Linked DNA regions of Homo sapiens: all the other regions are linked to region 7. The links are contacts of gene promoters, found by promoter capture Hi-C in blood cells and fetal thymus (Javierre and others, 2016). All regions are on one chromosome and are shown on one strand. The core of a region is centred on a gene start or on the middle of the fragment in contact, and the rest is flanking DNA. Distances in the headings are between cores, read along the strand shown.

Region 1 (3,805 bases), core at 1,289-3,788, 610 kb before region 7:
GTGTGCCTGGAGGCATGAGTGAGAGGAGGATGATAGGAGACAAAGACACAGAGGCAAGGAGGGTGAAGCTGCACAGCGTCTTATAATGACGTTGTCTTCACTCTTACTAAGGTAAGAAGCCATTAGAAGGTCGTGACCAGAGAAATGAAATTATTGTTTATGGTAGGAGATTATTCTGGCTGGTGTCACTGGTGAAATGGAGAGAATAGTTATAAAGTTATCATTGCAATTAGGTGAAGAGATGATAGGGGCTTGGACCAGGATGGTTGCAGTGAATGTTGTGAGAAGTGTTTGGATCCTCAACTCTACTGTCAAATTGTTTACAGCCCAGTTAGGAGAAAAAGTCTGGGAAACTTTAATGTATTTTTTAAAAAGAGAGAGAAATAAATCGTTAGAAGCTAAATGATATGAGTACAATTACAAATTTAAGAGTGATTTGGGAAAAGCAAATTGAACAATGTGACAGAAAGGTGACTGATTAATAGTGTTTTAATAAAAATAATAATTGCTGACATTCATTGTGTTCATTACATGCCAGGTGCCAGGCATAGTGCCTTACGTGTGATATCTCAATTAATCTCCACCAAAAACCTATGATAAGTTGCTGCTACTGTCCCATTTCCTATATGCTATAAGAGGAAATCAAAGAAAGAATGTCTGGAAAGGTTAATAAGTTGTTCAAAGGACATAGCTGTAATTTCGTCATGATTTGGCTTTCATGAGAGCCCAAGCTCAACACTGACACGCTATTCTGATTTGCCATATAGGTGGAGGGGGAAATAAGACATTCTCAGTGGGTGAATCCATGTGAGTGAAGGTTAGGAATTCAAATGTTTTGTGTGTGCATGAGAATCGCAGGTCTGGAGCAGAAGGTTCATTTTGGGGAACAATAAAAGAAATAGTGGAGACTGAAAAGTATAAACAGATTTTAGAAGTCCTCCAGAGCTAGCCAAAAAAGCTTTCATTGTATCCAGGAGAGCCTGGGAATCTAAGATGAACATGGAAGGAGAAAAATTATTATTATTATTATTTATTATTATTATTATTATTTTGAGACGGAGTCTTGCTCTGTTGCCCAGGCCAGAGTGCAATGGCGTCATTTCAGCTGACTGCAACCTCCACCTCCGGGTTCAAGCAATTCTCCTGCCTCAGCCTCCTGAGTAGCTGGGATTACAGGCATGTGCCACCACGCCTGGCTAATTTTTTTGTATTTTAAGTAGAGACAGGGTTTCACCATATTGGCCAGGCTGGTCTCAAATTCCTGACCTTGTGATCCACCCGCCTCAGCCTCCCAAAGTGCTGGGATTACAGGCATGAGCCACGGCACACAGCCAAGAAAAATTAATTTAAGATTATCTGGCTCCCAGGTACAAGATGAGCTGGGGGCAGTAGAGATCTGGCAAGTAGAATAGCAAGAAAGAAACATGATCATTTATATATGAGGTAATAAGAACTAGTAAAAGTAGGGATTGAAAGGTACATGTCAGCATATTTCCCAGAGTTTTTTTTTCAAAATCCAGGAGAGAATTTGGTTCTGAGTTGTTTACTAAAAATATTGAATTACAATCCATGCCATGTCCACAATTAGTTGTGTGAATTTGGGCAGGTTATTTATTTGAGAAGTTTCTTCATCCATAAATAAAGTTGTATTAGATTATATTTAATGTTTTCTTCCTTTTATATTATGATTAAGATGTGTTTGCTGATTTGTTTTAAAGTTACAGTTTAGAAAAATATAAGAGCCTTTAGCATCTATTTCTTTCAAGGCATTAAGATTAAATTTCACTGAGTGTGTGGCGCTATGTTTGGAACAAAGAAGATGCACGGAAATACTCCCTGTGTTGAACTGAATTTAACTGAAACTTAAAAATTATCAAAGAAAAAGAATAAATTCTAGCCTTATCCCTGTATCTATTAAAGACTGAATATCAAAAAATAAAATGTTTAGAATTGGTCTAGATTCTTCCATTGTCCTGCTGAATTTCTTGGCCAGTGATATTCCAAGTGTGGTTCCTGGACCAGACTATGGGTTACTAAATAATTTATATATAATTTGTGTGTGTGTGCACGTGTGTGTGTGTGTGTGTGTGTGTGTGTAAAATCGCCTCAGGCATTTTTCCACACTGGAAGTCACCTCACAGCCTTAGGTAGCAAAACTATGCCTAGAATAGCTGTATTATTCCAGAACTTTTTTAATATTCCTAGATACTCTTTATGAATGAATCCAAAAAGCAAAAGACAGAAGCAGCCTGATTGAGAAGGCCTTGCTCCTTGTTTCTAAGAAAACTATTATACAAAGTGAAACAATATAAACAAGATTTATTTGTTTGTTGCCTAATCTTTTAACCCAGACAGATGATCATCTATAATGGCTTTGTTTTTCAGCTTTTTCTGCCTCCTGTTGTTCAGAGTAATGACGTGGAGAGAGCTCAAGCCTGAGGAACTAATAGGTATTAGTTCAAAATCCAATTCTGCTGTGCAATCTCAGACATGTTTCATAAACTCTCCATGCCTCAGTTTCCTTATCTCATTTCTCAGATTTCTTATCTGATAAATAAATAAGACACTATAATAATAGCATAGTATTTGGCACAAATGAAGTACTCAACAGATCTGTGTTCCCTTCCTCCATCTCTAATTTGTGAATATTATTTCTGAACCTCTTTCTTAAACCCTAGAACTAACGTAGGAAATAACTTCTCCTCCACCCCATCCATGGTGTTATACATGGAGGAAATACACATTTGGGGAAGTGCACAGCTCAAGTGACTCTAACCCTGGATTTCCAGCTGATCCCACCCCAGAACCACCCACAGGGAAAAGGAAGAGAAACCACTTCCCACAGCTGGGGCTTTCCTCATTTCCGAAGCTACAGAAGAATGATCATAGTACTCAGAGGAAGCACTGCTGGCCTGGAGGTCATTTGCCACAGAGGGAGTTCAATAGCCCCTTAGTCCTGTCAGGGCTTCTCCCTTATCCCACATTACTCATCTGTAACCTAGTACTTTAAGTAAAATCTTGTCTTTTGCAAAGTAAAGAACATTAATCTTCCACCTTTTACATTCCTACTTTCTCAATTTATGCTTTGTTTGAATAACAAGAATGGAGGAGATAAGGGGAACAACTGTACTTCCTAATGGTTAGTCCACAAAAAGCCATTAGCATTCACTGTAAACAGCATTCATCAATGTGCTGTCTTAGGTCAGGATCAACTTCCTTATCTAAACTTGAGAAGGGACTGCCCTTTTTTCTCTATCTCACTTATAATACTTGTGGGTGGCAGAAATGACAGCAATCACACACTGTCACACAAGAATGAATCTGACACTTCACTGTTGAAATTCTATTATCTTTTATCTCTTTGATATCCTTTACATTAAACTTAATTCTCAAGTTCTCCAATTGGTGTCTACATCAGACTTGTAAAGAGTTATAGAAATTATAGGAGTCAAAAATAGTTTAAAAGCCTTGTGATATGGATATATGTAAGAAATACTCTTCTTTGAATAGTGAAATACCTTAGCTCTCTAGTTCAGCTAATGTACATATTTTCAAAGCAGGGAAAAGACAGCTGTGTGGATGTAGAGAAGTAGGGGAGAGGAGAGGGTGGATTTGCATTAATGATGGGGCTTCAGTGGGAAGGAAGGAAGGAAGGAAGGAAGGAAGGAAGGAAGGAAGGAAGGAAGGAAGGAAAGAAGGAAAGAAGGAAAGAAGGAAAGAAGGAAGGAAGGGCAGGAGGGAGAAAATAGCTAGCTTCATTTTAGTTTCAAGTTAAATGAAATACAAAAATAAAACCACATTCATT
Region 2 (3,668 bases), core at 640-3,139, 640 kb before region 7:
AGATCACACACCTTGATTTCTCCAAGTATGCTGGCTACAGTCACATTCCAGTGCCAGCAATGCCATTAGCTCCCTTTTTCAGGCCAAATCACATGTATTAGAGAATATATTTATTATTCCCGCAAGAATATGAGATGCAGGAGGGCTGTACATTGATTCTGCATATTTTTATCCCAAGCCTAGGAGGACAGCTCACTCAGGAGACAACTGGAGAGCAGCACCTTCAATTCACTTTTCTTGGAATCTAGGTTGTATCCTGATAAGAAGCATGTGAAAAAAAAAAATGTGTGTGTGCGTGTTGGTTGGGGTTGAGGGAGAGATGTTCAACACTAACATAGAATTAATGAATTAATGATAACATAGTGTCATATTGAGATAGTGAGATGTGCTGCACTTTGGAATAAGAGAGACATAGGTTCCTATCCTGTTTATTTAGCAGATTATTTAACTTGCCGGTGCATCTATTTCTTCCTCTATGAAATGGAGAAACAATCCTATGAATCTCTATGAGGACTAAATTGGATAACGCGTTATGCTGGGTGTGGTTGACTGGCTCCCAGCAGCCAACCCCACCCGTTTCCATGTTCCTTTTTTGTACATAGGAGCTGAGGAGATAAACGCTACATTTAGCAGACTCCTTGGCAGCAAGGGCTCTGGGTGTGAATTGTGTCTGCCAACCAGAGGGAGAAGTTGGACGCGAACGCTTGGCTGTTCCTGCTGGCTAGCAACGTGGTAGGAACAGGTTTCTGTGCAACGGAGTTTGCATGCGTATTTCAGACTTTTCAGTGTTTTGAGATTTGTGACATCACTGCAGTAATGACCTCAGAGCGGGCACTCCTAATGAGTCAGTTGCACATTGTTTTGGCAGTCATCCCACAATATCCACTCAAAAACCGACTTCTCTGGCCCTCCCACTGATTGTCAGGATCTCACTTGCAGTATTAACCCACTTCTGTTTTCAGTCTCTAGAGTGGTTTGTTTCCTATTCTGAGCAATGACTAATATAGACATACAAAGTGCTTAACAGAGCACCTTTCTGTGGCACTAAAAAATGCTTGATAAATATAGCTATTAATATTATTATTATTATCTGGTATTTGACCTTAATCAAGTTGCTTAACCGCACTAAGCCTGAATTTTCTTATCTATAAAACAGGGACTTCTTAAGGAACTGCTGTACAGATAAAATAACATAATGTATGAAAAGAGCTTAGCACAGAGAGTAGGTGCCCAGTAAATTTTGTGTATAATTATATATTCCTTTTATTCATTTTCATTTTTTCAACATATAAATTATTTTATTAGTCGTTTAGCTTAATCCACACATAGTATAACACTATAACAGCATCAAACTGTTGTATGCCAATGTCTATGTTATTGACATGTAGTAGATTTCTAAATGATTTAGAAATGTGTTATACAAGAAGCCAGGTTAAACTTAAATAATGAGAGTTTCTGCAAAACTAATCGACTGACTCTTACCTCTGGTAATTTTTCCTTAGACTTTATTCTGCAATCACTAGAGGGCAGACAAATACAGTGAATAATCAGTACCAGCTAAAGCAGTAAATTCTTAATGAGCTTTCTGAATATGGGTAGAAACCGTTATTTTTCAAACATGAAAATAGAAGAACAAAGATACTTACTATGTAAGGACACAAATATCAGTTAAAAGTTTATAAGTTTATTTTAACTTCATTGTTATATAAAATTAGTAAGCACAATTTTCTACCTCATACTTATGTAAATTTTAAAGTAAAATCATTCAACAACACATACATTAATTTTTAAAATTAACAAGATAATTAAATGATATATATTCATTAGAACAGAGAGAGAAGGTAGCATAGTAAGAGGATCATGAATCTGGGAATACAAAGACCCAAACTCCAAATGGGTCATTTTACCTATTAGTTGTTGTAGGCACAGTGCTTTGGGCCGACAAACTTTCAAGATGCTAGAAAAATGTTTGAAACTTGTAAAATAATTGATTCCAGACTTTGAAATGAAGACTTTTTATTTACACACACACACATGCACATATATGGACACAACCTAACGAGCAATATTCCCAAAACAGTAAGAACATGTTGGAATCTTGATTGAATGGTAATAAATGATTTTCATAGAACTGCCCTCTTTACAATATTGGGTCTTACAACCTATGAATGTAGTACGTCCTTCTGTTTCTTTGTTTATTTGAGTCTTATTTTAATTCTTTTAAATGATATTTTACACTTTTCTATGCAGAGTTCTTGAACATATTTAGAGTTAGGTGTGTAAATATTTTTATACTATTTTAAATAATATCCTAATTTTAATTTCTAACTCTGTTACTGTTACATATAAATACAATTTCTGTACATGGCTGAAGTTATCTAACTTGCTAAATTCTTTTATTAATTGATATTAACTATGTGTAGAATCTCTTGAATTTTCCATATATATGATCCTCTGTTCTGCAAATAATATCAATTTTCTTACTTTGCTATATTTTTATTTTTATTTCTTCTTCCTACTGCATTGCTACATATCCTCCAGTATATGAAGAATTAAATTAATGACAGTAGTCTCCTAGCCTTTTTATTGAAACAGATGGAGAACTTATTTATAATTATACATAATATTTGTTAAAGGTTTTATCAATTTTATTAATATTTTAAATTTAGCAACTTTGATGATGCCTTTGTTTATGTGTTTGTTCTACTCCTTTTTTTCTGCCATGTTGTTTTTGTTTCTATTATAGCCTTTGGATTGAATTTGCTCTTTTTTTTCCTACATTCAACACCATGAAATGGAGGTTTAGTTGATTGATTTTTAGACTTTCCTGTAAAATATAGACATATAGGATTTTCAATTTAAATTTCTCTTTGAACTCATCTTTAATACAGTCCCACAAATTCTACATGTTGTACTTTTATTATGTATTTCATGATATTCCTAATTTTCATTGTGATTTCTTCTCTCATAGTTTTTATATAAACACATTTTTTAATTTTCAAGTATACAGGCTGTTTCCAGTTTGGTTTTCTTTTTTGTGGTCTGGTTTACTTTATTTTTACTGTGGTCAGAGAACACACTGTTATTTTAAATGCACTGAAATTTATAGATGGTTTATGTGTGATAGAGGGATATGAATTTTGCAGTTTCAAAGTTTGTATTACCATTAGGGGAAGCTGCTTTGAAATCTTCCCATATCACTGTGTATTTAATTATTTCTCAATCTAGTTCTGCTCATTTTTATACATATATATGTCATATAGTTTGTCCATTCCAAATTAGAATTTATATTGCCACTTGCTAAACTAAACTTCTTGTAATTATGAAGTAGTCTACTTAATCTCTAGTGATATGTATTGCCTTATAGTCTATTTTGTCTGATATTAATGTGTTTATACAGCATATCTTGATAAATATAACCTTGTTTTGTAGAAGTTGTTGGTGAAGCAGGACAGATCAGTTATATAATTGGTACACATAAGTATAAAAACTGAGTTGAAAATAATAAATTATAATTATTCCACCTGAAGTCCCAGCATCTTCATTCTGAAATTAAATTATTTAGTAATTTTTCAATATTATATAGATTAAAATCATCCTTCTATATCCTTAGACTGTGCCTTTTCTAGTCTTCCATATCTCTTCTCTTCCTTGGTGTGTAATGTTTC
Region 3 (3,373 bases), core at 387-2,886, 660 kb before region 7:
AGGCTGAGGTAGGCAAATCGCTTGAACCCGCGAGGTGGAGGTTGCAGTGAACCGAGATCTCACCATTGCACTCCAGCCTGGGCAACAAGAGCGAAACTCTGCCAAAAAATAAAAATAAAACAATAAATTTTAAAAAAAGTCCTTGGTGAAACAGCAAAAAGTATTAGTGTTATTAAATCTGGACCCTTGAGTACTTATCTTTTCAACATTCTGTGTGATAAAATGGAAAGTACACATAAAGCCCTGCTGTTGCATACTGAAGTATGATTGTTGTGAGAAAAAAAAAAATTGTGCAATTAGGTTATGAGCTGAACTAGCTGCTATTTTGTGAAACAATTTTTACTGAAAAGAAAAACTTGTAGATAAATGTGGTTATTCAGACTTGGATATTTGGCAGACATTTCCTCAAAAATGAACAAAATGAGCCTGTCACTTAAGGAAAACAACTGACAGTATTTATTGCCAATAGCACAATTTAAGCTTCAAGTGAAAGCTTCCATTAGCTTGACAGCTTTCCAACACTTAAAGAGTTGCCTGATGAATTTTGGTAGTGATATTAATGAATGAAATTTTTGATATTGTGTAATGAAGTTCATCAACATTTGGAAGACCTGTATAACTCAGCATAACAATATTCTCTAAGTGTTCAATGCATCATATTACAGAATCAACATTCACATCACACAATAGACCAGTGGATTTTAATGTCATGAGAAGTTTATTGAGATAGTTTTAGATTCTACATTACAATTAACCTTGAAGAAACTACTATAGCCAGGTTTGGATGTAGTTCCAAAGAAGACTATTCACAGCTATCTTTAAAAGCTATTAAAATATTCCTCCATTTTAAACTACATACATGTATGCAAGACTGGAGTTTCTTCATTTACTTCAAACAGAGCAACATATCAAAAAAGATTGGATGTAGAAGCAGTTACAATAATCCAGCAGTCCTCTATTAGACCCAATATTAAGGAGATTTGCAAAAATGTAAAACACTGCTTTTCTTCTCACTAAACTTTTATTTGAAAAATATAGTCACTTCATTAAAATATATTATTTAAGCTAGTGTGTAATGGGATTATTATTGGTTTTTAAATAAATTAATATAAATTTTTTAAACATTAATTTCTATTATTGTAAATATAAATACATAAATTGTTTTGATGTCTTTAGTAGAGTTTCAGAGCATAAAGGGGTTCCTAAAACCAAAAGTTTTGATAATTTCTGATTTTGTTGAGCAAAATTTACCTTTAACCATGATTTCTATTATATCCATAAATAAATTTATTTAATTTTAAATGTTATAGTACCACTAATTTACAATTTATGCCAGTCAAAAAAAATCTGGCCCTCACGTTTTATTGCAAAAGAGTTGAAACACATCTCATTGTAATAAAATTAAAAATCTATGGACCCCTCTCTTTTTCCGCCATTTTGTCAAAACTGCAAAACAAGTCTTGCGGAAGTAGGCCTAAGGGACTTTTGCACCGATATTGTACTGGCAACCCACCACGTACACCAATTTTTATTGTCATGGCCCAAACTGAAAAACAGGTTTTTTGACTTTTTTCCTCCTCAGAGAGAGTTTTTTTCTTTTGTTTTCTGGAAGCACAGCTTAGGAGCCTGAGATGATAATTTTTGCACGTATTTTTCTCCTTCCTTTGGGAACCTTAACCATATAGAGACCTTAACACAAACCCTGATGCTCCCTTCATATTTATCCAGAATAGCCCAAGCAAAGCCTGAAAATAGGGTATCAACAATAAAAATCAGAAATTTGATTCACAGATCAACACTTATATAACTGGCCGAGGTGTTGGCAATAATTCTCAATTCACATAACACATATTTGTTTAATAAAAAAGAGACGATGTTTGTTAGAAATACTTTAAAAGGTACCTAATCAGATATTTTTACCAAAACAGATGTTTCAGATGACAGAATATAGAAGTATAAATCCGAGGTGGGATGGGTGGGTATAAAGAGGAGTTCTGAGAGTGAAGTAAAATCTAAGCTGTTACAGTCTAAGAAGTGGACAAGAGGACTTCCTAGCCCATGATTCATATGTCTGCCTCCTGGGTACAGGTAAGTCTTATTGAGATCAAATAGAATATTCAAGAAGAATGGCTTGAGCCCTTGCTGTGCATCCTATAGCAATTGTACCACTGTCCTCCAATAAATTCCTGCACATTCTCAAGGGTGGGGTTGAGGGGTTAGGGCTGGAGTGGGGCTGATTTTCTGTCAGTTCACTTCACAGCTTGGTTTCCTGCTGCTGTCCAGCTCACCCAACCACAGTTCCCATTTGGCCCACCATGTCCCTTCATACTGGATTTCATCTTTCTGTGACAGAGGCACATTGTCACCTTTCAAATTCACATTCTTAACTTATCTTTCAAAATAATAGAGTCCTAATTTTGACCTTCACAAATTGCAGTCAGCTGAAAGTCTATGTTTTCCAATTTTCTTTATCTCTACGTACTGGCCAGTAAGATGTGTGTAAAGTTCTGCATAAATGAAAGTGTTCTGTGGAACTTCCAGAAAGCCTCATTAGGAAAGAAAAAATATGTTCTTCATCCATTTCTCTGTACTATCCCCTGAAATACAGATGAGAAGTTCTGTGGGAGTGACTACATGGGGAGCCACAAGGATGACAGCTTCGCCCTCAGGGTGGCAGAGTGGAGATCTAGAAGGAGCATGGGTTCCTGATGACTGACCATGGAGTCACCATACCTGCTATGGACTGCTTTTCCCTGGAATTCTTTATGTGAGAAACAAATAAGCTTCCCATCATATTTAAGCCACGTTCTTTCAAGCTTTCTGCCATACAGAGCTGCATCTGGTCATAACCAAAACGACATCTTTTTTTTAATTCCACAAATTATAAGAAACACAAGCCTATTTTAAATTTAAAAAAAATGTTCAGTGGAAACTTGATGGCAACAGATGGGGAAGTATTGAATAGGAAGGAAATACTGCAAATTCAATAGAGGTCATCGCTGTTTCTAGATATTTGTTATCACTTCTCTGCCACAGACATGTTCATCATTGTCTAGATGTGTCCGTAAGTCTTTTCCTTCTGACATGCTCTTAAGGAGCTCCTCCTCTCTATTTTGACTTTTCTTTTTAATGCTATCTTCTCATTTACTCATGGTAACTCCAAATACCTCTAACTTTATATTGTCTGTCTTCTTGCCAGCTACTCCATCCAAACTACATCCTTAGCCTTACATTTCTCAAGCAAAAATGATATCAAATCCTACCCCGTGCTTTTATTAACAAAAGAACCATCTACCCCAGAGATAAACTAAGCAATTCCATTAGGAGGAAACAGCCACAATCTTTTTTTTAATAGCATTTTTCTTCATACTCT
Region 4 (3,578 bases), core at 88-2,587, 630 kb before region 7:
CATCAGTCAGAATGGCTTCTATTAAAAAGTCAAAAAACAAAAGATGGTGTAGATGCGGGGATAAGGGAATGCTTATATACTGTTGGTGGGAATATAAATTAGTTCAACCTCTATAGAAAATAGTATGGAGGCCAGGCTCGGTGGCTCATGCCTATAATCCCAGCACTTTGGGGGGCTGAGGTGGGTGGATCACTTGAAATCAGGCATTTGAGACGAGCCTGGCCAATGTGGTGAAACCCCATCTCTACTAATATTTTAAAAAATAGCCAGGCATGGTGGTGCATGCCTGTAATCCCAGCTACTAGGGAACCTGAAGCAGGAGAATCACTGGAACCTGGGGGCCAGAGGTTGCAGCGAGCCAAGATCCCACCAGGTCTCAAACTCCTGGTCTCAAGTGATCCTCCCATCTTGGCCTCCCAAAGTTTGGGATTACAGGCATCGACCACCACACCCAGTCTTGTAGCTTAAATAAAAATATAAAAAGTGAAAGCTTAAAGGAAAAAATATATATGTGCTAAGCAAAGGGTGAGCACATGAAATTCGGTGTGGCTATATTAATATCAGATAAGAAATGCAAGCAAGGAAGGAGATAGATATTAAAAGAGATATTTGGTAATGATAAAAGGGACTATGCATCATGAAGATTTAACAATCATAAATGCATATGGATCTAATGACAGAATTCAAAATACGTGAAACAAAAATCATGGAAATAGAGGTAATAATAGACCAACAACTATAGTTGGGGATTATAAAATCTTTTTGTGCATAAAAGAACAAGTAGAGTTTTAAAACTAAGTATCAACATAGACAGTCTAAACCATACTCTCAACTAACTTGATTTAACTGACATTTATAAAACACTTTCTTTTCAAGTGCACATGGAACTTTCATCAAGAGAGACCATGTGAAATACTATAAAATACATTTCAGGAAATCCTAAAAACTTAAGACTTATAGAATGTTTTTTTGAGCACAATGGAATTAAACTATAAATCAGTAACAGTAAGTCTAAAAAAGCCTCCAAATATTTAAAAATGAAACAACAATCCTATAACAGAGATTATAAATAAATCATGCAGAAATTAGAAAATATTTTAGACCTGATAATAAAAAATATAATATGTTGAAATTTATGGGATTCAGCTAAAAACGTACTTAGGAGAAATGTTTAGCTTTAAATGGATATCAGAATTTTTTAAAAATTTTAAATCAATTATTTAACCTTTCATCTAAATAAGCTAGGAAAAAAGACCCTATTAAAACCAAAGTAGAAGAAAGGAAATAATAAAAATTAAATCAGACCAATTAAATAGAAAACTAACAATAATTAGAGTCAAAAAGTGGTTCTTTGAAAACATTGATAAAATTGATTGATCTCTCTCAAGATTGACCATGAAAAAGACAGAAAATACAAGTTTTCAATAGCAGTAAAAAAAGGAGGAAATAGACATATATTGGCAGTAAACAGTATTATTTCTGTGTAGAGATCTTTCATATTTTGTGTTAGATTTATTGGTAGATATTTGATTTTTTCCATGCTATTATAGATAGTAGTACTGTTTATAATAAAATGTAATAAAATACTGTTTATAATAAAATAAAAAATCAAATATCTATTAATAAATCTAACAAGAATAGAAAAGATCTCTATACTGAAAATAATACCTAGCTGAGAAAAAATAAAGACCTAAATAAATAGATATTTTATATATGTAACATAGAAAATGTCTTATTGTTAATACATTTTTTCTACCCTAATTAACCTGTTCAACACAATCCCAATCAAAATCTCTGTATGCTTTTTAGAAGAAATTATGAAAGTGATTATAAAATTTATATGAAGTGCAAAGGATCTAGACTAGTCTGATTGATCTTAAAACACAAGAATAAAGTTGGGGACTTATACTACTCCATTTCAAAACTTAATAAAAAGGTACTGTGATCATGACAGTTTAATATTGGCATAAGAACAAAGTTTAATATTGGCATAAGAACAAATAGTTCTTAATACAAAGGTACTGTGATCATGACAGATTAATATGGGCATAAGAACAAATAGTCCTCCAGCTACTGGACAAATATTTGAAAAATATTAAACTTTGATTTCTATCACAATCACATTCAGTACAAATGTTTGTATATTAAGATGAATCATAGACCTATTCATAAGGGCTGGAACTATCAAGCTTTTATGAAAAATGAAAAAAAATATTTTTGTAACCTTAAGTTTGTGAGTTAAAATGTATCTCTGAAAAGGACATGTTCAAGTCCTAACCCCAAATATTTATAAATATTACCTTAGACGGAAATAGAGTCTTTTCAGATATAATTAGTTAAGTTAAAATGAGGTCATACTAGAGTATGGCAGGCCCTAATCCAATATGATTGGGATCCTTATAAGATGAAGAGAACGGACACAGACACACACAGGGGAGAATGTCTTATGAAGACAGAGGCAGAAATTACAATGGAATGCCAATGATTCCCAATAACCACTAACGTTACAAGAAGCACATGAAATGGATTCTCCCTCAGAACTTCCAAAATAAACTAACCCTGAAAACTCCTGGATTTCAGACTTGTAGCCTGCAGAACTATAAGAGAATAGTTTTGTTTTGGTAAGCCAGCCAGTTCACAGTGCTTTGTTACAGCACCTCTATAAAACTAATATACTTTGGCAAAAATTTCTTAAACAGGATATGAAAAGCACCAAAGAAAAAATATATGTATTTCATAAATATACACTTCATAAAAGTTTTTGTTCATCAAAAGTTACCATGTAGAAAATAAATAGGCAAGGCAAAAACAGCAACACATATGACTAGCAAAAGATGTATACCCAGAATACACAAAGAACTCCTCTAAATCTAAAACTTTTTTAAATGAGCAAATACTTGACCAGACATTGTATATTAAGATGAATCACAGACCTAATCATAAAAGCTTAAACTATCAAGCTTTTGCAAAAAATAATGGAAAAATGTATTCATACAAAAATGAATCTTCTTCATAAAGGAGGTATTAGTAAAAATGAGCATATGAAAAGTTGTTCACCATCATTATTCATCAGGTAAATGCAAATTAAAACCACAGTGATCTATATTTCAGACCCACTGTGATGGGTAAAATCAAATATTGCTGAGGATGGAGAGCACCTGCGCTTCTCATATATTGCTGCTGGAATTGTAAAATAGTAGAACTGCTTTACATAACTATTTCATAGTGGATTATAAAAGCAAACACCTACTCTACGAGACAGCAATTTCATTCTAAAAAAAATAAAACATTTGTTCATTAAGCAAATGTGTATATTCACAGAAGCTTAATTCATTACTGCCAAAAACTGGAAACAACCTGTATCAGTTTTCTAGGACAGTCATAACAATGTACCACAGACTAGGATCCATAAACAACAGAAATTTATTTCCTCACAATTTTGAAAACTACAAGTCCCAGATCAAGATGTGAGCAGAGCTGGTTTCTTCCGAAGCCCTTTCTCCTTGAGTTGCAGATGGCTATCTTTTCCCTGTATGTTTACATGGTATTCCCCTAGTGTGTGCATGCAATGCTCAGTA
Region 5 (3,484 bases), core at 798-3,297, 580 kb before region 7:
CAAAGAACTTAAACAAATTTACAAGAAAAAAAAACAAACAACCCCATCAAAAAGTGGGTAAAGGATATGAACAGACACTTCTCAAAAGAAGACATTTATGCAGCCAATAGACATATGAAAAAATGCTCATCATCACTGGTCATTAGAAAAATCAAAACCACAATGAGATACCATCTCATGCCAGTTAGAATGGTGATCATTGAAAAGTCAGTAAACAACAGGTGCTGGAGAGGATGTGGAGAAATAGGGATGTTTTTCCACTGTTAGTGGGAGTTTATCCTTTTTTTCTACACAGGGATATTCAGGTGGTGGCATATCTAAAAAACCTTACATAAACAAAAATGTATTTTTAAAATATATTTTATGCTACTTAAATAAGAAACCAAAAAAGAAAAATGGGAAGGCGATTGTCCTCTCCTCCCAGGCAGGGTAGATAAGAAAATAGAGAGGCAACATGAAGTGGATACTTGCAACTCTTAATGAAACTGAACCAGATACTCAAGACAGATGGGCTCCCCTACATCTTGCAAAGCAAAACTTATTTGTTCCTTTTACATTTTCAATTGCTTAATTTGAATTTCTTGGTGCAGGCAAAAGGATTTGTGAGAAATGTTTTACCCTCTTTCATTAAAAAAAAAAAAAACTATTCAATAGCAACTGTCTGAAGAAGGGGAGAAAAAAGGAAAGAAAACAAGAAAAGCCACAAAGCCCAGCTGCACTTAGTTTCTGTTCACTTAGTGCAGCTTATGACGTAGGCTCGTTGTATTTTGAATTTGCACATTAAAAACATTCATTCAGAGAGGAAACTGCCTTTGGCATAACCTGCAGAAGCAAATAGCATTCACAGAACTGTTATTCAAAAAATTGTACCCAGAGAGCTATATTTCTTATTTAAATGAAACTTAAGTAGAACCAGGGAGGAGGGGGAGGTATGTTTTATGGTGGGTAACTTCTGACTTAAAATTTGAATCAGGTTTCATAAACAATTATTGGAATCTGAGAAAAAGTCAAGCATCAAACCCTGAGTAGCTGAGAGTTTGGGGGTCTCACAGCACAAAAAAAAGGGTGTTGAAAGAGGAAGCCCCGTTTTTGCTCTAAGTGACTTGCCTGATCCCGAAGTTATGTTAGCTTGTTTACCTCCAAGCACACCTTTGGAGTGAGATTTTTAAAGCAGTTCTCTTTGTAACATCAACATTACAATCTATATCCTGAAAACTACGAAGTTTTATATTCCTCCTTCCCCTCACTAGGCCTCCCCTGGCCTGCTTGTGTATTTGCTTCTTAGGGTCTACAGGCCTCTCTCTGAACTAAAGCTCTTTTGAAGTCCCAGACTTCCTATCTCCACCCAGGATCTAACTTAGTGTGATAAAGGATAATTTATTTATGAAAAACATTCATGCCATTCTTTTAAACTAGAAGCTTACATTTCAAGGGTATGGAAATGATTTCTAGCTGCCCTAATTTCATGGCATTGGGCTGTCGTATGTCATATACCACTGCACTGTTCATAATATTTAGACAGTTCCATAGCAACCTGTAAAATACAGCCTCCAGAGGTCTGCATTCCTCCAGCTATTCATGAAGGATTGGAGGAATTCCAGAGGAAAGAAACCACATTACAGAGCACTGGGTCTGAAATGCTCCCTTTATGGTAGCAATTGCAGGAAACCTGGAGCAAAAACATGTCTTAGGATTTGATGCAGACCTCACTACAGTTTCTAGAAGCATTCCCTTTTCACTTCTAGTTTTCTGACTTTACTTATAAGGTATCCAAAAATGGTTTGATAAAATTAGACTGCTTTATAGCTTATCTTTTTTTCCTTTCCAGGGTGGACAAATAAATTATCAGATTTTTATTACTTAAAATGTGTTATACAAAAATATTAGTGGGCAATACAGAAACGCAAATATATTCTAAGGCCTGGTTCTCTTTCCATTTGCTTCTTGAAATTTGCAAGTAAAATTTTCATTTTGGCCTACTTTTGAACCAGACCACAAAAACTTACTTTATTACACTATCCATTCACATTAAAATAGAATTTCTACAGTGACCAGCACAGAGATTTTAAATAAATGTGGTCGACACTCCTTAGTCACTGTTGCCATCTTCACTCTCTCCATCTCTCATTTTCATCAACCTGTAAGATAAGTCACTATCTATTTTCTATCTATATTTCATTCAAAATGTCTTATACGTTTGTAGCTCTCTATTCTCATAGGTACTACTTATCTCCAAATTATATCTCCTCGCATAAGATTACCATAATAGTCTACCACTTTATGTCTTTTAAAATATTTCCTGTAGCACCTTATAGAACACACAATATTTTATATATTCATCACATTTGATCCTCAACCTATGTTTTAAGCAAAGCAAACATCATCCCAGCTTCACAGATAAGAAAATGGTCTCAAGAAGACTAAATGACTTTCTTAATCAATGTCATGAAGGTAGCAAGAGACAGAAACAAAACTTGAACTCAAAACCCTTGAATCTAAATCCCAGTTCCCTAAACTTAATACTTCCTTCTTAAGGCCAAATAACAACAGCACAATAAAACCCGCTAAAAATTTCAACAGGTCCCTATTTATTAAACACATATGGCAACTTAGAAGTGGAGTGGCCTTACAGAGTATGAGGTTTAACAATCCTCATTTTATATATTATAGCTCCAGAAGCTTGAGGACTGGGTGATATTTCCAACATTACAGAACCAACGATAGACCCCACCAGTTCTTGAATCCACTGACTCCCAGCTACAGCATTTTCTGCTACACTTTTCTGTCTTACTGCCTTAAGTGACCCCCAGAATTTTTAGCTTTTGATAACATGTCCCAGTAACATGTCCAGCTTTAATTTTACCATCTCAAAAATGTGCCTCTGCTAAAAACAGGTTTATACATTTCACTTTCCAACAGGGGGACCACACTGATACAACCTCTGGACAGTGGTCCACATTGCTCACCAAACCTGGAGCAATGTTCCCTTCAGTCTTTCCAAGTACAAGTCCTAGTCAAATTCTACTCCCTGCACAGAGCTGGCATCTCTGTACCTCAAGAAACCTCCCTTCTCCGACTTCTTGCAGTACTTGTAGTTTCTACCACACAGATCTCATACCTGCAAATCCCTTTGAGGTCAGTGGCCAACTGGTCCTATGTTCCTGTCTAATCTCGTTCCCATGTTCTCCTCACTGAGAACAGTTGTTATATGAAATGTTATTTCCTTTTCCTAGAATATCCTTCCACTCTCACATATTAAACTGTCTAGAATATTCCTACTCAGGCTTTGCTTCTCAGCTTAAATGCTGCTTCCTCCATGAGGCCCCTGCTGTCTCTAGGTGACATAGGAAAGCTGTTTTCTGAGTTCCTATAGCATTCTGTACATTACTCCTTCAAACCAGTTATCTGATTTATATTGAAGTTGTCTACATGTCTGTTTCCTCACTAAAGATTCCTTGTCATAGACACAGTCATCAGCTTTTCT
Region 6 (3,466 bases), core at 325-2,824, 940 kb after region 7:
GCAAACCTACTCCAGTAGCAAGTACTGGAGTAAACCTTTACTCCAGTTTCCAATAAGTTTTTCATCTTCAACTGAGACCACATCATCCTGGAATTCATCACCACTATTAACATTTCGGTCACAACAATTCAACAAGTCCATAGGAAGTTCCAAACTTTCCCACATCTTTCTGTCGTCTTCTGAGCCCTCTAAATTGTTCCAACTTCTGCCTGTTACCCAGTTCCAAACTCAATTACACATTTTCAGGTATCTTTATAACTGTGCCCCACTTTCATGGTACTAATTTTCTGTATTTGTTCACTCTCACACTGCTATAAAGACATACCTGAGACTGGGTAATTTATAAAGAAATGAGGTTTAATTTACTAACAGTTCTGTGGGCTTAACAGGAAGCATGATTCGGAGGCCTCAGGAAATGTACAATCATGGCGAAGGGGAAGAAGGCATATCTTACCATGAAGAAACAGGAGAGAGAAACAGAGAGAGAGAGAGAATGGAGAAATGATCAGAGCTCATTAGAACTCACTCACTATCATGAGAACAGCGAAAGGAAAATCTATCCCCATGATCCAATCACCTCCCACCAGGCCCCTCCCCTGATACGTGGGGTTACAATTTGAGATGAGATTTGGATAGAACACAGAGCCAAATCATATCACCCATCTTGACATCTGCTTCTCAGAGGACATGAACTGACACATAGTCCTTTAGAATCTGATAAAATCCATATCTTTATCACCACTGAAAATTCTATTTTAATTTTGCTATGTGGATATTGTACTAGGTGATTGCTAAAGTCCTTCCAGCTATATTTTATAATTCTAAGTTTCTTCTTAGGTAGAGAGAGATTACGTTTTTAAAAATAACTAAATTTTCCTGTATAAAAATGAAAGTAAGACTTAACTTGTTCAGGACTGATTTCCTGTTACTTTAGGCCTCCTCTAACATGCTATCAAAATTGGCTTTACCAAAATACTCTAAATGATAGTAAAATGAGGTAAGAAATCAGGTCACCTTTCCATTTATCACAAAAGCTGCAACCTACAGACTATACTCCAGCTAGTGCTCCGAACTTTGATTACTAAAATGGTAGAATTGGGTCAGATAACAAGTTTCTGTTTTGTTGGATAGCTGCAGTCTCCTGGCTTGAACCCCAGCCTACCAATAAAGATAGAAGAAGAAACAGGCTCTTCTCCAATCATATAACTAAAAAATCTCCACTACCAATGGCCAGGTTCCTTTCCTAGAATTTATGCCCAGTCCTACTAAATACTAGTTTACTGGGCCATATTGAGGTGGGTGATGGTGTGAAGACACACCTTTTACTTTTTCAGTTTCTGTTCATTTTTTCCAATAAATGCTGTTCAGCGAACAAAATGTGTTCTATATGGCCATTGTCTTTCTGTTATTGAAATAGCTACTATGGCCAAGGCTTTTTTTTTTTTTTTTTTTTTTTTTTTTGAGACTGAATCTCACACTGTCACCTGGCCTGGAGTGCAGTGGCGCAATCTTGGCTCACAGCAACCTCGGCCTCCTGGGTTCATGTGATTCTCCTGCCTCAGCCTCTCGAATAGTAGTGATTAGTGGCACACACCACCACACCCAGCTAATTTTTTGTATTTTTAGTAGAGACAAGGCTTCACTATGTTGGCCAGACTGGTCTCGAACTCCTGACCTCATGATCCGCCTGCCTCAGCCTCCCAAAGTGCTGGGATTACAGGTGTGAGCCACCGTGCCTGACTGGCCAAGCCATTTTTATTGGTGTCCAGCATGGAAGGCTGGTAACAAATCAAGGGACCAGAAATCAGTCTACAAGTGGGAAACGTTTACATGTGGTGGTGTGGTATGGCTGAGATGGCCTGATGCTTCTGTTGTGCTACACAGTTCAGTTAAATGGAAACCATGAAGAAGGGGCACTAAACCCCATAAACCATGTGAACTCCATCATCCCTGACTCTCTAATTAAGGAAATAACCTCAATAAAACCAAGTTAATCAGTGGATCTACCACCTAGGGTTTCCTTATAAAACTATTATTATAATTGTTATTATTTTAGGAAAGAAATGTGATGAAAAGGATATTGTACCCAATCCTACTTAAATCAACTAACCATTTAGTGCATAAGGTAGATAGAATGCTAGGAAAAATATGAGCCATCTGAAGGATGGAGATGAGGAAAGCCCAAAAGTGTGTACCATACATATCAGATTAGGATACCAACACACTTGGTGTGATGGGGTGGCCTATAAGGAGCTGTCTCCTGGGACCCTATTATTGGGCATTGGGAAAGTATAAAAGACACTATTGCTGCCTCACTCAAATCACTTTTACCAGATCAGTGCCTCCAGCCTTCCACTGCTTGGATGTTGGCTATTAACAGCTCATAGTTATATTCTGTTCCTGATAATTGTTCTTGACTAAAGGAAATTACTCACCCAGACATGTCAGAGGAGTAAAGCCTTTCCTCAGAGACAGCTGATAGCCAGTTTTTAATAGATACTGGGTACAAATAGTCACCCCTCTTTCATCAAGTTGAGACAGCTCTCTAGTGTCAGTTATACTCCAGAAAGCCCTGTTCGATCAGGCTAGACTTCAGCTGAGCCCATTTCTTTGCCTAGTTTCTTCCTCAGTTCAATCCTATTACCTGCTCCTGTACTGGATTCAGTTGAGAGCAATCACTCCATAAATCACTTGCTCAAGAATCCTTGTCTCAGGCTCTTCTTTTAGCGAAACTGACTTACGGAAGAAGGGCTTAATGCTCTCAAAGAAGATAAGTAATAATATAGTGAAACAAGGGAGAAGTTCAGTGACTTGCCAAGTCATGCTGTTGTTGGATCCAGCCCATGTTCTCACTAGGATTGAAGTTGCTATTTCCCCAGTCATAAAATGTAAACAAACATTTCCATGTTCAAGGGCCAGAGTTCCTCTCCATGAATGTGATATCTGACAGGCCCTACTAAATTCCTCTATGATCTTTCTGAACCTTGTTGCATAATGAGAAACCACACACCTTATCTTGTTCCTGGTTCTTGGATTTTCCTCTAATACATACTGACCCAGAAAATCTGATGAAAATCATATCTTGTGTTTCTTTGGGCAACAGAAAATAACCCCTATAGTTACTAAGGAAAGGATAAAAAATTGAAAGAAAGTAACTGTGTGACTTCTGTCTTTACATCCAAATTATTTGAGTGGATAGAAAGATTTTGTAGATTAAATTATTCATATTTCAGTCACTCTCAATAACTTGTTCATTTTAATGTAAAATATCTCTCTCTTTTCTTTTTTTTTTTGGCTCTGCACTCTTTTTATTTTTATTTTTTGGATCTGTCTTATCAGTTTTTCACACGTTGCTTGGGAAGTAATATTCAGGTGCTATTATTCTCAGTAAACAAGTGAGAAAATGGAAGTGGAATTTAAATCATGATTTCATGATTTCCCTGGAGTGGAAAGCATGGGTCTAGAT
Region 7 (3,607 bases), core at 461-2,960:
AATTCATTAACCTAAAAAACATAATTTCTCTGAAAAGAGAGACTTTAATCATTATTTGAGTATGAAATAAAATTAAGTATCGTTTGAAGGGACTATAGTCGAGCCTCCTAATCATGAAATCTTGGCTTCCTTGAGCTTATCTTTCCATTCATTACTTCAACATTTATTAGAAGCCTCTATCCATGTATTAACTCGATATTTACTAGGAGCTTCCATCAATTTATTGAATTCATCCATTTATTACTAATATGTACCAAATAATGTTAGACAGTAGGATATGAGGACACAGATCTATGGTGTTTCAGTTTTGTGGATGCAGGCAAATAAACTATAAAGGGAAGTAATATGGTACTGAGTGCTCTGACACAGGTATGAATAGAGAATGTGGGGATAGGTAATTGTAGCCATTTCTTTATAATGTGTGTGCTTGGGGTGAGATTCAGGAGAATACTACGGGGTGAAAACATTGGTGGAACAGAAAAAAATTTCACAAACTAACAGTTGCAGAATGGCTACAGATCATATCGGAAATGAACCACACACTTCTGTATCTGTAGTCCTCTGCGTTGTGAAAAGATTGACTTTTTTCAAAACAGGTCAAGGAATTTGGTTATGTCAAACACAAAGTTGCCTCTTTTTTCCTTCTGACATGGTAAAAGAAAAAAAACAATCCCATAGGATGTGTTTGGTTGGCCATAGTATATTGAACTTATCTTAACCGTCTCAAAACGCATGTCAAGGACACCACTGAGACTTCTGAGTACCATTTAAAAAATTGGGTAGTCTGGAAGTGTTCTAAATTGGACCGTTTGGGGTTTCTGTTAGGGCAACTTTCCCATTTACATCTTGGAACACAGCCTTTTGAATATAGCCCTTCGGGATTGGCGGGGAGAAGGGACCGCGATGGAAAAAGTCATCATCCAAAGAATGAAGAGGGAGGATCCAACATTTAGGATATTTTATTGACTTGCTAGGCGCGTTTACCTTATCTTCGTATTAACCCCATTTTCTTCATTAACCAATTGATGCTGTGAGAAGCTATGTAACTTGACGAGCAGTGCCCAGAACTGTTTTTTTTTTTTTCTGGACTCGGTCTTTTCCACTCAAAACCAACAAAAAACCAAAACTCGTTCTTTTCCACATCAAAAGCAAACAAAAAACCCCAACCCCAACCCCAAGAGCCCCACTCTTTCAAAAGGGCTTCTCCGGATCACTAAGTCCTAGAGGTCTTTGGCTAGGCCTGGGTCCGATCTAAATAGGAAGGTAATTCTAGTGTTCCGCAAATCCTTGCCGAATTCCATCCCGGCCAAAGCAGGGACCCGGGGGAGCCTCTGGTCGCACCCGAGACAGTTCGTTAAATACTCAGTGCACGTGCTGGGGATGGAAGTGCTGACCCACTGCTCAGGTACGCGCGCACCTGACGCCGCTTGGTGCGCGCCGCGGGGTACTGGGTACGTGCTCCGCGCGCGCGCGCCCGGCAAAGTTCCCCGTACGTGCGCCGTACGTGGGCGCGGTGCCCCAGCGCTCAGCGTTTCAGCGAGTGAGTGGGCTCCGTGCCCAGCTGAAGTCTGGGAGGGGCACTTTTCCAGGCGGTCGCGGCTCCCCCTGGCGGCGGATGTGCCTCGCTGGAGGGGCGCAGTCAGGCGTTCTCCGCGGGCAGCCGGCGGCGGGGCCTTGCCTTACAGCGCGGGGTCCTCGGCGGCCTGGGTGGCTACTGCCCCTGCTGCTGTCGTAGGCGAGGACGGCTGTTAGTGCTGCTGCTGTTGGTTCGTCGCGGCGGCGAAGGAGGAGGAGGAAGAGGGCGAGGCGACAAGAGAAGAAGGAGGCAGGCGCGGCGGCAGCGGCGGCGCCCCGAGCCGGCGGAGGCGAGGGGGGGGAAGATGGCGGACGTGCTTAGCGTCCTGCGACAGTACAACATCCAGAAGAAGGAGATTGTGGTGAAGGGAGACGAAGTGATCTTCGGGGAGTTCTCCTGGCCCAAGAATGTGAAGACCAACTATGTTGTTTGGGGGTAAGTCCGGCATGGCTGTGGCCCAGGGGTGGCAGGGCAGAGTTGGGCGCCCCCAGGCGACCTCTTTCTTAACCCCTCCCCCCGTTTCCCCTGGGGATGGGATAAAACGGGTGTTCGGGGAAAAGAAAGTTTCTCTCTAGAGCAGAAGTTGCACTTTTAGGGTAAGGAAAGAAGGGGCGGAGCTCTAGAGCAGTTCATCACTTAAAATTTTTGAGAAGCCCAAAGGAAAGGTACCGTGGGAGTTTCTGACTTTTACAGTTAATTTTTATCAGTAGGTATGTGTACCAGCGAAGTGTGGGACTGGTGCGCAAGGGATACCTGAACATAGGTGCACAAAGGAGCACACCGTCTGGTGCCGTAGACGCCTCTTTTTGTTCTTTATTTTTTTTTTCTCTTTTCCAGGCTGCTATGTAACTATCTCCGCTGGTCTTTGCAACTCCTGGTTTATTTCATCTCCTTTCATTGTTGGGGTGGGGGTGATTCCTGTAGAAGAGAAAAGGGAATCAACCCTGAAGTTAGGACCGGAAAGAAATTTGGTGAATTTGGAAGAGTCATAAAAGTCTGTGTTAGAGAGGTCTTCAGGAGTTGGTGAAATGAGTGAGCTTTACAGATCTAAGAAATAGATGGTGCGTGTGATTTTTCGGAAGTGTATTTTAAAGGGAAATGTTTGGGAATGTTGGTCCATGTGAAGTTTTATCAGTTTAAGTCATTCAGGAAAACTTCTAGAGACGGCTCTAACAGTCATTAGGGGCCTTTTTAATGATGTCACTGTCATTGGTGCATCGCTTCTAGAATTAGAACCTTGAGCTACAACTTCCCTACTCATTTTGTTTCTTTGAATGGAAGCTTTATGAAGAGTCGATGAAAAACTAGGGAAATTTAGTTTGTTGGTTGGTATTTATTTATTTATTTTTGAGAGGGAGTCTTGCTCTGTCGCCCAGGCTGGAGTGCAGTGGCGCGATCTTGGCTCACTGCAATCTTTGCCTCCTGGGTTCAAGTGATTCTCTTGCCTCAGCCTCCTGAGTAGCTGAGGTTGCAGGCCCCCGCCACCATGGCCGGCTAATTTATGTAGTTTAGTAGAGATGTGGTTTCACCGTGTTGGTCAGGCTGGTCTCGAACTCCTGACCTCAAATAATCTGCCCGCCTCCACTTCCCAAAGTGCTTGGATTACAGGCGTGAGCCACGGCGCCCTGCCTATTGGTTGGTTTTAAAATTTTTTTGTCTTATGATTTAATTAGCTTTATAAAATGTTGATCAAATGACATTCTGAGTTTCTGGTATTTTACCCTTTCGAATAATTTGCATAGGTAGAATTACATGTGGTTGGATTTTTAGTGAATTTTTTTTTTTTTAGACAATGGCTAAGGAGTACCTAGGGTGTGAAGTGGTTCAATCTGAGGATTAAAAAAATTCCTAAGACTCTGGTTTCTACCTCAAAGGAGGTTAACTTAGTCTGAATAGAGGAGATTAAACAGATAAGTTGATGTGAAATGCTTTCTATAAGTTGATGTGAAATGCTTTCTACAATAGCTTTTGAAGACAGCAGTCACTTCTAGTTGGGGTTATTTAGGAGAAGGTTCCATAGAATTGTCTTTG

What was found. The method cuts DNA at HindIII sites, captures the fragments that hold promoters and counts their contacts. A CHiCAGO score of 5 or more calls a contact.
Region 1: a contact is called between a fragment that was not itself captured here and the fragment with the promoter of CDC73 in region 7, in 2 of 17 cell types (total B cells and monocytes). The highest score is 5.5, in total B cells.
Region 2: a fragment that was not itself captured here is called in contact with the fragment with the promoter of CDC73 in region 7 in 10 of 17 cell types (neutrophils, monocytes, M2 macrophages and 7 more); the score reaches 17.9 in neutrophils.
Region 3: a contact is called between a fragment that was not itself captured here and the fragment with the promoter of CDC73 in region 7, in 3 of 17 cell types (total B cells, neutrophils and naive B cells). The highest score is 6.5, in total B cells.
Region 4: a contact is called between a fragment that was not itself captured here and the fragment with the promoter of CDC73 in region 7, in 2 of 17 cell types (M2 macrophages and neutrophils). The highest score is 5.4, in M2 macrophages.
Region 5: a contact is called between a fragment that was not itself captured here and the fragment with the promoter of CDC73 in region 7, in 3 of 17 cell types (monocytes, total B cells and neutrophils). The highest score is 6.5, in monocytes.
Region 6: a fragment that was not itself captured here is called in contact with the fragment with the promoter of CDC73 in region 7 in 1 of 17 cell types (total CD4 T cells); the score reaches 5.0 in total CD4 T cells.

The regions. Positions count from the first base shown.
Region 1 is chr1:192,509,778-192,513,582 of GRCh38, forward strand. It overlaps LOC105371664 (a long non-coding RNA gene), which reads right to left. Exons shown (of 5, transcript XR_002958418.2): 5 at 3,336-3,805. Among named protein-coding and RNA genes, the nearest start is that of RGS1, 64 kb to the right of the region's middle. The HindIII fragment of the contact is 3,164 bases long and covers 957-3,805 here.
Region 2 is chr1:192,476,282-192,479,949 of GRCh38, forward strand. No RefSeq gene overlaps it. Among named protein-coding and RNA genes, the nearest start is that of RGS1, 98 kb to the right of the region's middle. The HindIII fragment of the contact is 4,574 bases long and covers 1-3,668 here.
Region 3 is chr1:192,459,207-192,462,579 of GRCh38, forward strand. No RefSeq gene overlaps it. Among named protein-coding and RNA genes, the nearest start is that of RGS1, 110 kb to the right of the region's middle. The HindIII fragment of the contact is 2,290 bases long and covers 492-2,781 here.
Region 4 is chr1:192,494,497-192,498,074 of GRCh38, forward strand. No RefSeq gene overlaps it. Among named protein-coding and RNA genes, the nearest start is that of RGS1, 79 kb to the right of the region's middle. The HindIII fragment of the contact is 1,699 bases long and covers 489-2,187 here.
Region 5 is chr1:192,538,376-192,541,859 of GRCh38, forward strand. All of the region lies in intron 4 of LOC105371664 (a long non-coding RNA gene), which reads right to left. Among named protein-coding and RNA genes, the nearest start is that of RGS1, 36 kb to the right of the region's middle. The HindIII fragment of the contact is 1,260 bases long and covers 1,418-2,677 here.
Region 6 is chr1:194,060,263-194,063,728 of GRCh38, forward strand. The region is part of intron 5 of LOC124904475 (a long non-coding RNA gene); the gene reads left to right. Among named protein-coding and RNA genes, the nearest start is that of LINC01031, 760 kb to the left of the region's middle. The HindIII fragment of the contact is 4,408 bases long and covers 1-3,466 here.
Region 7 is chr1:193,120,321-193,123,927 of GRCh38, forward strand. CDC73 (cell division cycle 73) reads left to right here and starts at 1,711. Exons shown (of 17, transcript NM_024529.5): 1 at 1,711-2,011. The coding sequence starts at 1,881. RefSeq lists enhancers at 1,208-1,854, 1,759-1,828, 1,855-2,499, 2,099-2,148 and a silencer at 1,519-1,598. The HindIII fragment of the contact is 13,310 bases long and covers 1-2,855 here.